Linked DNA regions of Homo sapiens: region 2 is linked to region 1. Evidence: promoter capture Hi-C in 16 types of primary human blood cells and fetal thymus (Javierre and others, 2016). All regions are on one chromosome and are shown on one strand. The core of a region is centred on a gene start or on the middle of the fragment in contact, and the rest is flanking DNA. Distances in the headings are between cores, read along the strand shown.

Region 1 (5,412 bases), core at 1,491-3,990:
GTGGATCCCCTCGGAGTACTCCATAGCTGGAGATGACACACCCATATTACTTTCAAAGATTGGAGTTTATTGCACAGCAACAGTGAATCATTGCTCACTCCGGGTCCCGGTTCTTCCAGGATTGGCAGGTACACCATGTCCATAAAGAATCTTTCTGAAGTGACCCTTCCTGTCTCTTTTTCCATCCCAGGACACAGTATGATTGGGTTAGATCATTACTATCTAACCTGGCACACCCCAGTAGAACCTGGTTTCTTGCTAAGCTACCCCATGGCCAAATGATCCTCTTCCTTCTCAGAACACACATGTTTCCCTCCTGCTCAGATGAACTTTGGCAGAGGTTGAGGCCTGGCTTAGCTGGATGCTTCTTGCACAAGCTGCTTCAAAGCCCTGGGTCTTATTTCTTCAAATAAAAATATAAAGTCAGGTCTCATCCTGGGTGGCCATGCTCTTAGACACTTGCATCCTTCTCTTCTGTCCTTTCCCAACAGCTGCCCAGTCCTGGTTGGAATATTCTAATACTGACATAATTACCCTCATTAGCCACTCAACCCAGGATCCAATTTTAATTATAATCCAGAAATATCAGGTGATGAGTGAGGCTTCTGTATGAGAATGGGACAGTTCAAGTGTCAATTCAATAGTAAAAACACTTCTTAGGCCTTTCTTTATCTTATTCTCATCAAAGAGCTTTCTCTGCAGAAGGGACCTACTGGTTCATCCTTCCTGGTCCTTGATCTTCTGATCTAGAGTGGCTTAATAGTGCTGCCACCTCTCTCTCGAACTCTGGTGCCGAATGATTCCAGGAACTGGGCCATCCTGTGGTGGGAATGACCTTACCCTGAGCATGTCACTCATGCATTGAACAACAGCTGAGAGCAGAGCTTAGAGTTGGGCCTTGTAAGGAGAGAAGAATCACATCCTGCAGAAGTCTGTCCTGAGGAACAGGTACTCCAGTCACAGCAAAGACACAGTTGATACCTGGATAACAATAATAGAAGACAGGACATGGGAACAGCAAAAGATATGGGTGTTAGAAGAGGCCGAGAGCACTTCAGGCAGGAGCATTCAGAGTTGTTCTTGGAGGAAGTAGGCACGAAGGCTGGGCAGGATTTCAAGGGGCAAAGATGGAGCAAGCAATTCAAGTGAAAGGCATGGCATGGGAAAGGGAGCGCTGGCCACAGGGAGTGCAACGTTGTGATGCAAGGCCACTGTGGAGCCATTGCTAGTGTATTAACTGCAAAGTTTTGAATTGAATCAGAAGGGAATTGGAGGCCTCTAGACTAAGCATTTATTTGTGTATATTTTATTATTTATTTATTTATTTTGAGGCAGGGTCTCACTTTGTCACCCAGGCTGGAGTGCAGTGGCATGATCTCAGCTCACCCTAACCTCCACCTCCCAGGTTCAAGCCATTCTCCTGCCTCAGCCTCCTGAGTAGCTGGGATTACAGGCATGTGCCACCACACCCAGCTAATTTTTTTTTTTTTTTTTTTTTTGGTAGAGACGGGGTTTCATCATGTTGGCCATGCTGGTCTTGAACTCCTGACTTCAAGTGATCTGCCTGCCTCCTCCTCCCAAAGTGTTGGGATTACAGGTGTGAGCCACTGCACCAGTTCCAGACTAAGTATTTAGACATTTGAGGGGATTATTGACAACTGGGCCTTGGGAAGATTATTCTGGAAGATATCTATACAATGACAAGATTGGATTCTGTGGGGGAGGGATTATGTTCATGGGGAGGAGGTTATGTGTGCTGGTGTGTGTGTGTGGTCCTTGGACTTAACCCCACCACCTACTGGCAGAAGGTCAAGGTCAACTGAAAGTCTTTGCTCACTTCCATCTTCTGCCTCCACCAGAATACCACCTCCCCGTGGGAAAGGGTTTTTAATCCTCACTCAGTATTCTCAGCACGTCTTATCCAATAGCTTTGGAGTGAACAACAAGACCTTCATAACAGCCACTGCAACTGCTGTCACCTTTCCTTTGCTACCCCTCCCACTCCAGCCATGCCTGCTTCCCCCAAGGCCTCCCGCGCACCAGGCCCAACCTTCAAAGCCAGCAACATGAACAAGAGTCCTCTGGCTTTGGAAAGACGGCGGCTTATGTTTTCCTCCTCATGTTTCCTCCCCAGCAAAATCACTCTACATAGAGAGCCCTCTCCTCGTCTACACCAGCAAAGCCACTGACACCTTGGGGATCTCAAGGCTTTGTAAAAGAACGGAAGGAAAGAAAGAAAGAGAGAGAGAGAGAAGGAAAGAAAGAAAGAAAGAAAGAAAGAAAGAAAGAAAGAAAGAAAGAAAGAAAGAAAGAAAGAAAGAGAAAGAAAGAAAGGAAGGAGAAGAGAAGGAAGAGAAAGAGAGAAAGGAAGAGAGAGGAAGGAAGGAAGGAAGAAAAAAGAAAGAAAGCGAGAAAGAAAGAAAGAATAAAGTGAGAGAGAGACATATGAAAGAAAGAAAGAAAGAAAAAGAGAATGAGAAAGGAAAGAAGGAAGCAAGGAAGGAAGGAAGAAAGGAAGGAAGAAAGGAAAATAAAGGAAAAAAGTCTTGCTTCCAAAGACAGAAAAAGGAAATAGAAATACCTAATAATCCCAAAAGGTTATTTGCTGCTTGAGATTTTTGGGGGGTTTTTGTGTGTGTATTCTACCTAGTAACAGCTGAGAAATAAGGCTCGAGACACCATTGGTTGGTTCAGCCTCACTCGGCCAATCCTGGGCTCTAAACTGCTCAGTGGAAATCTTGGGACTTTTTGGACACCCAGAGAACAGGTCCCAGATACCGAGTCCGCAACTCCAAACATCGCGATTAATAGGAGGTGAACACAGCTTTTCTCTTCTCTTTGGGATGCTTTGTTGTCTGGTGGTGACTGTGCCCATGGGTGAGTTGTATCGGAAAATCGTCATGTGAGGATCAGAGGGGAAAAGAAAACAGAGGTTAGTTCTAGAAGGTAGGAAAGGGAGAGGAGGCGCTACAGCTCCGGGGTGGGGGCGGTAGCTGGGGGCGGTAGGTGCGGGGAGCGGGATCTGCTCTGGAGAGGAGAGGGGGACCTGGGAGACAGGAAGCCTACTGGTGGGGAGGCGCAGCCTCGCCTGGCTTTACCTCGAGTGTCCCGACCTGGGTCTCGGGGAGGGGGAAGTGGAGGGACGAGGGTGTGAAAGAATCCAGGGACAACTGAAGAAACCGGACTGTGGCCCGAGAAGTGGGAAGAGGAAGGAGGAAAACGGCCCCCTTGATCTCTGCATTGATGGCTTACTTATGGAATGTTTACGGAATCCCTCTTTCGGAGATACCTGAGCCTTGAGATGCAAGCGACTCCCAGAAGTTGGGGCACCGATGAGACCTACTTGAGTGACAGGAGAGGTTGGGCCCGACCAGCACTGAGGTGCCAAGACTCCTAGGCTGATTCTCCTCCTCTGTAACCCTAGGCCTCTGGTCTCTGCCTGCCCTGGGTGCTCATGGAACCAGCTGCTGCTCTGCACTTCTCCCTGCCAGCCTCCCTCCTCCTCCTCCTGCTCCTCCTCCTTCTCAGCCTGTGTGCACTGGTCTCAGGTAGGGATGTGTGTCACTTGCTGCTGTCACCTCTCAGAAAGGAACATCAACCCTGTAGTCTGCAAAGGGAAAGAAGGAAGAACTGTGGGGTTGTTGACTTATCCTTTCATTCTGAACATGTTCACTGAATTTATACCAGCACTGTCCAAAAGAAACACAGTGAAGCACAAAGGTCAAGTGCATATACAAGTGCAAATCTTCAAAAAGATTTTTTTAACTTTTTATTTATTTGTTTATTTATTTAAGAGAGAGTATATTGCTCTGTTGCCAGGCCGGAATGAAGCAGATGGAGAATGAGATCATAACTCACTGTAACCTGAAACTCCTGGGCTCAAGGGATCCTCCCATCTCAGCCTCCCAAGTAGCTGAGAGTACAAGCAAGGGCCACCACACTCGACTAAGTTTTATTTTTTGTAGAGACAGGGTCTCACTATTTTGCCCAGGCTGGTCTCAAACTCCTAGCTGTTAAGGATCCTCCCACTTTGGCCTCCCAAATATCTGCAATTACAGGCGCAAGACCCTGTGCCTATTCTACTTTTTATTTTAAAAGGTAAAAACATACTTGAAATAAATTTTAATAATGTATTTTGTTTCATATAAATAATCACATATCAATATTTAAATGCTTAGTTAATAGAACTATTACCAATGAGATATTTGACATTTTGAAATTTTAAATCTTTATAATCTGTGTGTGTTTTACACTTAGAGTTCATTTTTATTGGAACTGTTAAATAGCTAGTGGATAGATACCCTAATGGACAGTTCAAGTTTACACTACACTCAGGCACAGTGCTAGATTGCAAAATGGAGGAAAATCTCAGGGGCACAGGGTGCCCAGGGCGGGCTCCCCAATGTTTCCTTCGTGAAGCAGGAGCAGCCTCAATAGTTACTGCTCCCAGGGGTTGGTGCTGCCGACCAGCCACAGCTACTGGTCCCCAGAAGGGTTCTCAGCCCAAGAACCCCTGTAGCCTTGGAATATCTGCTTCCTTTCATCCCTGGAGTTTTTTTTGTTTGTTTGTTTTTGTTTTTTGTTTTTTGTTTTGCCTTAGAGTTGTGATAACTGGCATCCTTGTCTGATTCTGCCCTTGTTGAACAGCCCAGTTTACTGTCGTGGGGCCAGCTAATCCCATCCTGGCCATGGTGGGAGAAAACACTACATTACGCTGCCATCTGTCACCCGAGAAAAATGCTGAGGACATGGAGGTGCGGTGGTTCCGGTCTCAGTTCTCCCCCGCAGTGTTTGTGTATAAGGGTGGGAGAGAGAGAACAGAGGAGCAGATGGAGGAGTACCGGGGAAGAATCACCTTTGTGAGCAAAGACATCAACAGGGGCAGCGTGGCCCTGGTCATACATAACGTCACAGCCCAGGAGAATGGGATCTACCGCTGTTACTTCCAAGAAGGCAGGTCCTACGATGAGGCCATCCTACGCCTCGTGGTGGCAGGTGCATCACTTCATTTTGCTTTATTACTTTTGCACAGTGTGACTTTTGGGGAAAGTTTCTCCCTTAACCTCAGGCCCATTGCAGACCAACGGATTTCTATCTGGCGTCCCCTTTCCACAGAGAAAGTGGCTTCCTCTTGCACAAAGGCCACATGAGTGGGTTTGCCCTGCTAAGCTATAGGTTTCACTTCTTTTTTTTTTTTTTTCAAGACAGAGTCTTGCTATGTTGCCCAGGCTGGAGTGCAGTGGTGCGATCTTGGCTCACTGCAACCTCTGCCTCCTGGGTTCAAGCTATTCTCCTGCCTCAGCCTCCTGAGTAGCTGAGATTACAGGCATACACCACCATGCCCGGCTAATTTTTGCATTTTTTTAGTAGAGACGGGGTTTCACCATGTTGGCAGGCTGGTCTCAAACTCCT
Region 2 (5,683 bases), core at 2,808-5,307, 260 kb after region 1:
TACATTCCTGATCCTGACAATTTGACTTCTCAAAGAAGATAGCATTCTGTAAAACACAAAGACAAGGATAAAAAGCCATAAATGAGAGAATTTAGCACTAGATCATTTACACTCAAAGGATTTAACAATGGGTAAACTACAGTTAAAAAGAACAGATGGGTTTTCTTATCTAATCCCTTAAATTCAATTCTGTAGAGTCTTAAATCATCCCATATGACTCTTTAGAGAAAAGGACAATACAGAATCTATAACCCATCTGCACAATCTATAGCTTCCTTTGCAACTATAACAACATTGAAGGAAAGGGCTCCTAACACTAAATCTTGGTGGTATCTTGAAAACACGAAGGCATTATCTTCCCTACAGGAACTCAGGCTGTCCTGATCCAAAGTGTAATAGGGACTACAAAGTATTTTTGGGATTATAACAAAATTACCACCTTACCACCACTGCAACCCACGTAATCATCACAATTTTGGTAATTCAAAATTTATAACACCCTAAGCTGATTTATATTTCAACCACAAACAACCCAGGAGGTGGTCAATTAGGGGCACAAAAAGAAGTTAGAGAGTCCACACTTAACCATTGATGTCTTTCTCTAGAAGTTTTAACCTGCCTTATCCTTAGGTTAATGGGACTTGCAGTTCCCTCAACAACCTTCCTGCTACTGAGGATCAGAAGCAAAAATGGAACTACTTGGACCCAGGCAACATATAGGGCCATACAGCTGAGGCTCTCTATGACACTTAGCTTATAGCTGCTAGTATTAAAATGACATGTTTTATGGCTCTAGTTCCAGGTAAGATGGAGTAAATACATGTCACAGATGTCATCCCATTGAATCCAACTATGAAGTCTGGACAGAATGTATGGCCCAGTTATTTGACAACTCCAAAAAGCACATAGCATGCAAGTCAGGAAAGAGCAGAATTTTAAATGCCATTCAACCAGCAGTGATTTTATTTCTTTTTTTTCCCCCTTTTGGTCCTCTTCAGTATGGGGCCTAAGCTCGGTGTAGCCCTAAATATAGAAGTGAGGGAAGTTGTAAAACGTAATTGTCAACTGAGACTTCTCAGAAAACCTGTAAGTTTTCACACCATTTATTTATTTATCTATTTATTTATTTATTTTTATTTTAAGTTCCAGGGTACCTGTGCGGGATGTGCAGTTTTGTTACATAGGTAAATGTGTGCCTATGTAAACATGTGCTATACCTATCAACCCATCACCTAGTTATTAAGCCCACCATGCATTAGCTATTTTTCCTGATGTTCTCCCTCCCCCCGCACCTTGCTACAGTCCCAGTGTGTGTTGTTCCCCTCCCTGTGTCTAACTGTTCACATTGTTCAGCTCCCACTTATAAGTGAGAACATGCGGTGTTTGCACACCAATTATTTAAAATTGGCCATGGAAGTCAGTGGACAGAAAACTGACTTAAATATGAAAAAAAAAAGGAAAATATCTCTAGAGGAAATATAAAGAATGTGGTAATAAAACACAGTCAGAGGGGATAACAGTGGCTACAGAAATCCAAATCTCTCAACACATCCTTTAAAAGCAGTAAGAATAAGAAGAACAAATGTACTATACAAAGCCCACACTGTCACCAAATCCCATATAGCTGTCTCTCACATTCTAGCCATAAGCTATCAAGGAGAGCAAGGACAATCTGAGAATGAGAGGTAAAGAGAAGAGAGCTAGCAGTGGGCAAGACTGACCTAAAATTCATTGCCAGAAAGAAAAACCCACTCTAAGTACAAAAAACTTTATCACAGTAAGTATGTATAGAAAAAAAAAAGCCATTTAGGGTTCAATACTATCTGCAGTTTCTGGTATACACTGGGAGTCTTGGACCATATCCCCCACAAATAAGGTGGGATTACTATATTGTATTTATGGCAGGTGAGAATTAAAGTACACTATTAAACTAAAAAACCATCTGAAGCTGAAATGGCCTTTTAGAAAAGAAAAATTTTAGAAACCCTTAAAAACCAAATAATTAAAGGTTAAATATAAAAATTTATTTTTTTAATGAACTAAAGGCATTAAAAAAGATCTAAGTATGGTCAGGTGCGGTGGCTCACGCCTGTAATCCCCGCACTTTGGGAGACCGAGGCAGGCGGATCATATGAGGTCGGGAGTTCGAGACCAGCCTGACCAACATGGAGAAACCCTGTCTCTACTAAAAATACAAAATTAGCCGGGTGTGGTGGCACATCCCTGTAATCCCAGCTACTTGGGAGGCTGAGGCAGGAGAATCACTTGAACCCAGGAGGTGGAGGTTGCGGTGAGCCAAGATCAGGCCATTGCACTCCAGCCTGGGCAACAACAGCGAAACTCCGCCTCAAAATAAATAAATAAATAAATAAATAAATAAATAAATAAATAAATCTAAGTACAAAAGTAGCTAATATAACAAAAATCAAACATTCAAAACAGAAAGTCATGAAAGAGCTATGAAAACCTATCGTAGAAAAAAAAGTAACAAAATACAGTTATAACAATATGACATTGTTAAAACCAAACATCAACTATATCAATAAATATAAATGAGCTTAACACACCTATTAAAAGAAAGAGATTTTCATTTTGGCTCACAAGCAAGACCTAACTATATGCTAAATACAAGAGACACCTAAAGCAAAGTGATTCAGGCAGGCTAAAAATAAGGAGGTGGGAAAAGGAACACTAGGCAAACAGAAACAATAAAAGTAGGGCTTTTGATCCTGATATCAGGCAAAGTAGAGTTCAAGCCAAAAGAATTAAACATAATAATACTTTCTAAATTACACTAAAGTCATGGTTATCTATGTATCACATTACACAGCAGGCACATTTACAAAGGAAAAACAGAGAAACAGATACAAAGAAACAGAGATAAAAATATTAATAATAGGAAAGCTTAATATACCACTCTCAATAAAAGACATACAAACTGGACCAAGAAGTAATGATGCAGAAGGCCTAAATAACCTAATTAATAAGTAAATCTTATTTATATTAAACCGTATGTCCTGATAAGTACACATTCTTTTTAAGAACACATGAATCATCCACAAAAATCTGTCATATATTATGTAATAAAGGAAGCATCATTATCGCAAAGAAACATTACAAGAAACAATCTGCAACAAAACTAGAAATTTATTAAAATATCAAGCGACCAAAGGTCCTTTCAAATGGGGGGAAAATAAACTGTTAAAAAACTATTCAGTAAAAGGGGCAATGAAAAAGTTAACAAAATTTTTAAGTATTCATAATTGAAAATATTATATATTACAATCTATGGGATAAATTTAAACCAGTTCATGCCTATATTTCTTTAATCAATAAAAACAGAAGAATTTAAATGAACAAGTTAAATTCTTAGATCAAAAGCTAAGAAAAAAATAAATTTCAATTGAGCCCAGGAGTTCAAGACCAGCCTGGGCAATATTAATGAGACCCAATTTCTATTTTAAATAAATAAGTAGGTATGGTAGCTCATACCTACAATCCCAGTGCTTTGGGAGGCCGAGGCAGTAGGATTGTTTGAACCCAGGAGTTCAAGACCAGCCTGGACAACATAGCAAGATCCTGTCTCTATTTTGTTTTTTAATGGGAAAAAAAATCAAAATAATAACAAAAATAGATAAAAGGAGAAATCAATGAACTAGAGAACAAAAAGACAGTAAATCTAATGATAAATCAAAATCATACTTATTTTGTAAAACTTAAAGAAACAGATAAACCACTAGGTTACTTAATTGAAAAAAAGGAAGAAAGCACACATTTACAAAATAAGAAATGACAAGGAAGAATAACCACCGAAAAGAAAAACACACATACATGAAACCACTTTGCAAATCTCTATATAAATAAATATGATTAACTATAAAATAAGGGTTTCTTTATGAAACACAATTTATTAGAGTTGACTCCATTAAAGATATAAAGTCTTAAAACACCAATTTGCAGAGAATAAATAGAAAAAGTTATAAAGGAACCATTCCATAAAAAGCACTAGGCCCAGATTATTTCACGAAATAATTCTATAAATCTACACAGACCAAATAAATACAATGCTTCATACATATTTTCCAGAGCACCGAAAATGAAGCACAACTTCCTAATTCTTTTTGTGAAATAAGGATAGCACTGGTAACTAAACCTGATGAAGAGAGCATAAAAAAATTTTAATATCCAATATCGCTTTTTTTTTTTTTTTTAAAGAGTCGGGGTCTTGCTCTGATACCCAGGCTGGAGAGCAGTGGCACAATCATAGCCCACTGTAGCCTCAAGCTCCTAGGCTCAAGCAATTCTCCTGGCTCAGCCTCCTGAATAGCTGGGGTATAGGTACACACCACCATGCCTGGCTAACATTTTTTATGAATGTGAGAAATACTAACAAAAATCAATACCACATTAAGAAAATAATATACCATGACCAAGTGGAATTTTTGCAAAATTGGTTCAAAATTAGACTATCTTTCAATATGAGGAAATCCACTAAATATAATACCCCATATGAACAGACCTATGGAGAAAAATAATATATTATCTCCATAGATAGTGAAAGAACCTGCAACAGAAATCAACATCTATTCTGGATAAAAACACTCAAGAAAGTGGAAATTAATAGATATTTCCTTTTAATATGATAAAACATACATTCCTTCATCCAGTACCTTAAGTTAGAAAAACTACAATAATTTTTACTAAGATCAGGAACAAGGCAAGTATGGCCAATACTTCTCTTTTCAATCACTGACCTGGAAGTATTAATCAATGCAATTAGAAAAATCAATTAGAGGTGTGAAAGAAGTAAAACTATCTCTATTTGGAGGTGATTTAATAGTAGAATTAGAAAACCCTACAAAGGACCAATGCTAAAACTAACTCAAATGATAAAGGAATTCAGTATGGTAGCAGGATATAAAATTTGCCACACAGAAACCACCAGTTTTTTACATAAATATAAAGAATAACTAATTGGAACACACAATGATAGAGAACAACCTTTGTATAACAGCAGCAATATAAAACTACTTAGAAATAAATAAAACATAGCCATGCCAAATAAAGCATAGGAAAACTTCTCCCTCCTGAGACCCAAAAATAGACTCGAATAAATGGAAGGACAGCCTTTGTTCTTGCATAGAACAATTCAACATTATGAAGATGTTCCCTCCTAAGATTTATAAACAATGCAATCTCAATAAAAATAACAAGCTTCTTTATGAAACTAGACTAAGGGGTGGCAAACTATGGCCCACAGGCCAATTCTGGCCTGCCACCTGTTTTTTTCAAATAAAATTTTACTGAAATAGGGTCATACTTATTCATTAATGTATTGAAAGGCAGAATTGAGTAGTCACAATAGAGACCAGATAGCCACCAAAGCCTAAATACAATACTTTCTGGCCCTTTAAAGAAAAATCTCCAATGCCTAAGCTGTACAGTTGCTACTCAAGTTCACTTTGAAAAGACCAACAAGGACAGCCATGAAGCAATGAAAAGACAGACTATGAAGGGTAACTAAACCCATGAGACATTAAAATAAACTTTAAAGCTTCTAATATTAAAACAACAGAGTTCCAAAACACAATTAGATAAAGGGACAAATAGAAAAGGAAATCCAGAAATAAACACATATAGAAATTTAGTATACAATAAAGATGACATCTCAAATCACCAGGGC

What was found. The method cuts DNA at HindIII sites, captures the fragments that hold promoters and counts their contacts. A CHiCAGO score of 5 or more calls a contact.
Region 2: a fragment that was not itself captured here is called in contact with the fragment with the promoter of BTN2A2 in region 1 in 1 of 17 cell types (neutrophils); the score reaches 5.0 in neutrophils.

What each region holds. Positions count from the first base shown.
Region 1 is chr6:26,380,368-26,385,779 of GRCh38, forward strand. BTN2A2 (butyrophilin subfamily 2 member A2) reads left to right here and starts at 2,741. Exons shown (of 8, transcript NM_006995.5): 1 at 2,741-2,814; 2 at 3,425-3,548; 3 at 4,648-4,995. The coding sequence starts at 3,455. RefSeq lists a silencer at 2,590-2,679. The HindIII fragment of the contact is 7,335 bases long and covers 1-5,412 here.
Region 2 is chr6:26,643,683-26,649,365 of GRCh38, forward strand. It overlaps ZNF322 (zinc finger protein 322), which reads right to left. Exons shown (of 4, transcript NM_024639.5): 3 at 1-46. Among named protein-coding and RNA genes, the nearest start is that of ZNF322, 13 kb to the right of the region's middle. The HindIII fragment of the contact is 2,310 bases long and covers 2,903-5,212 here.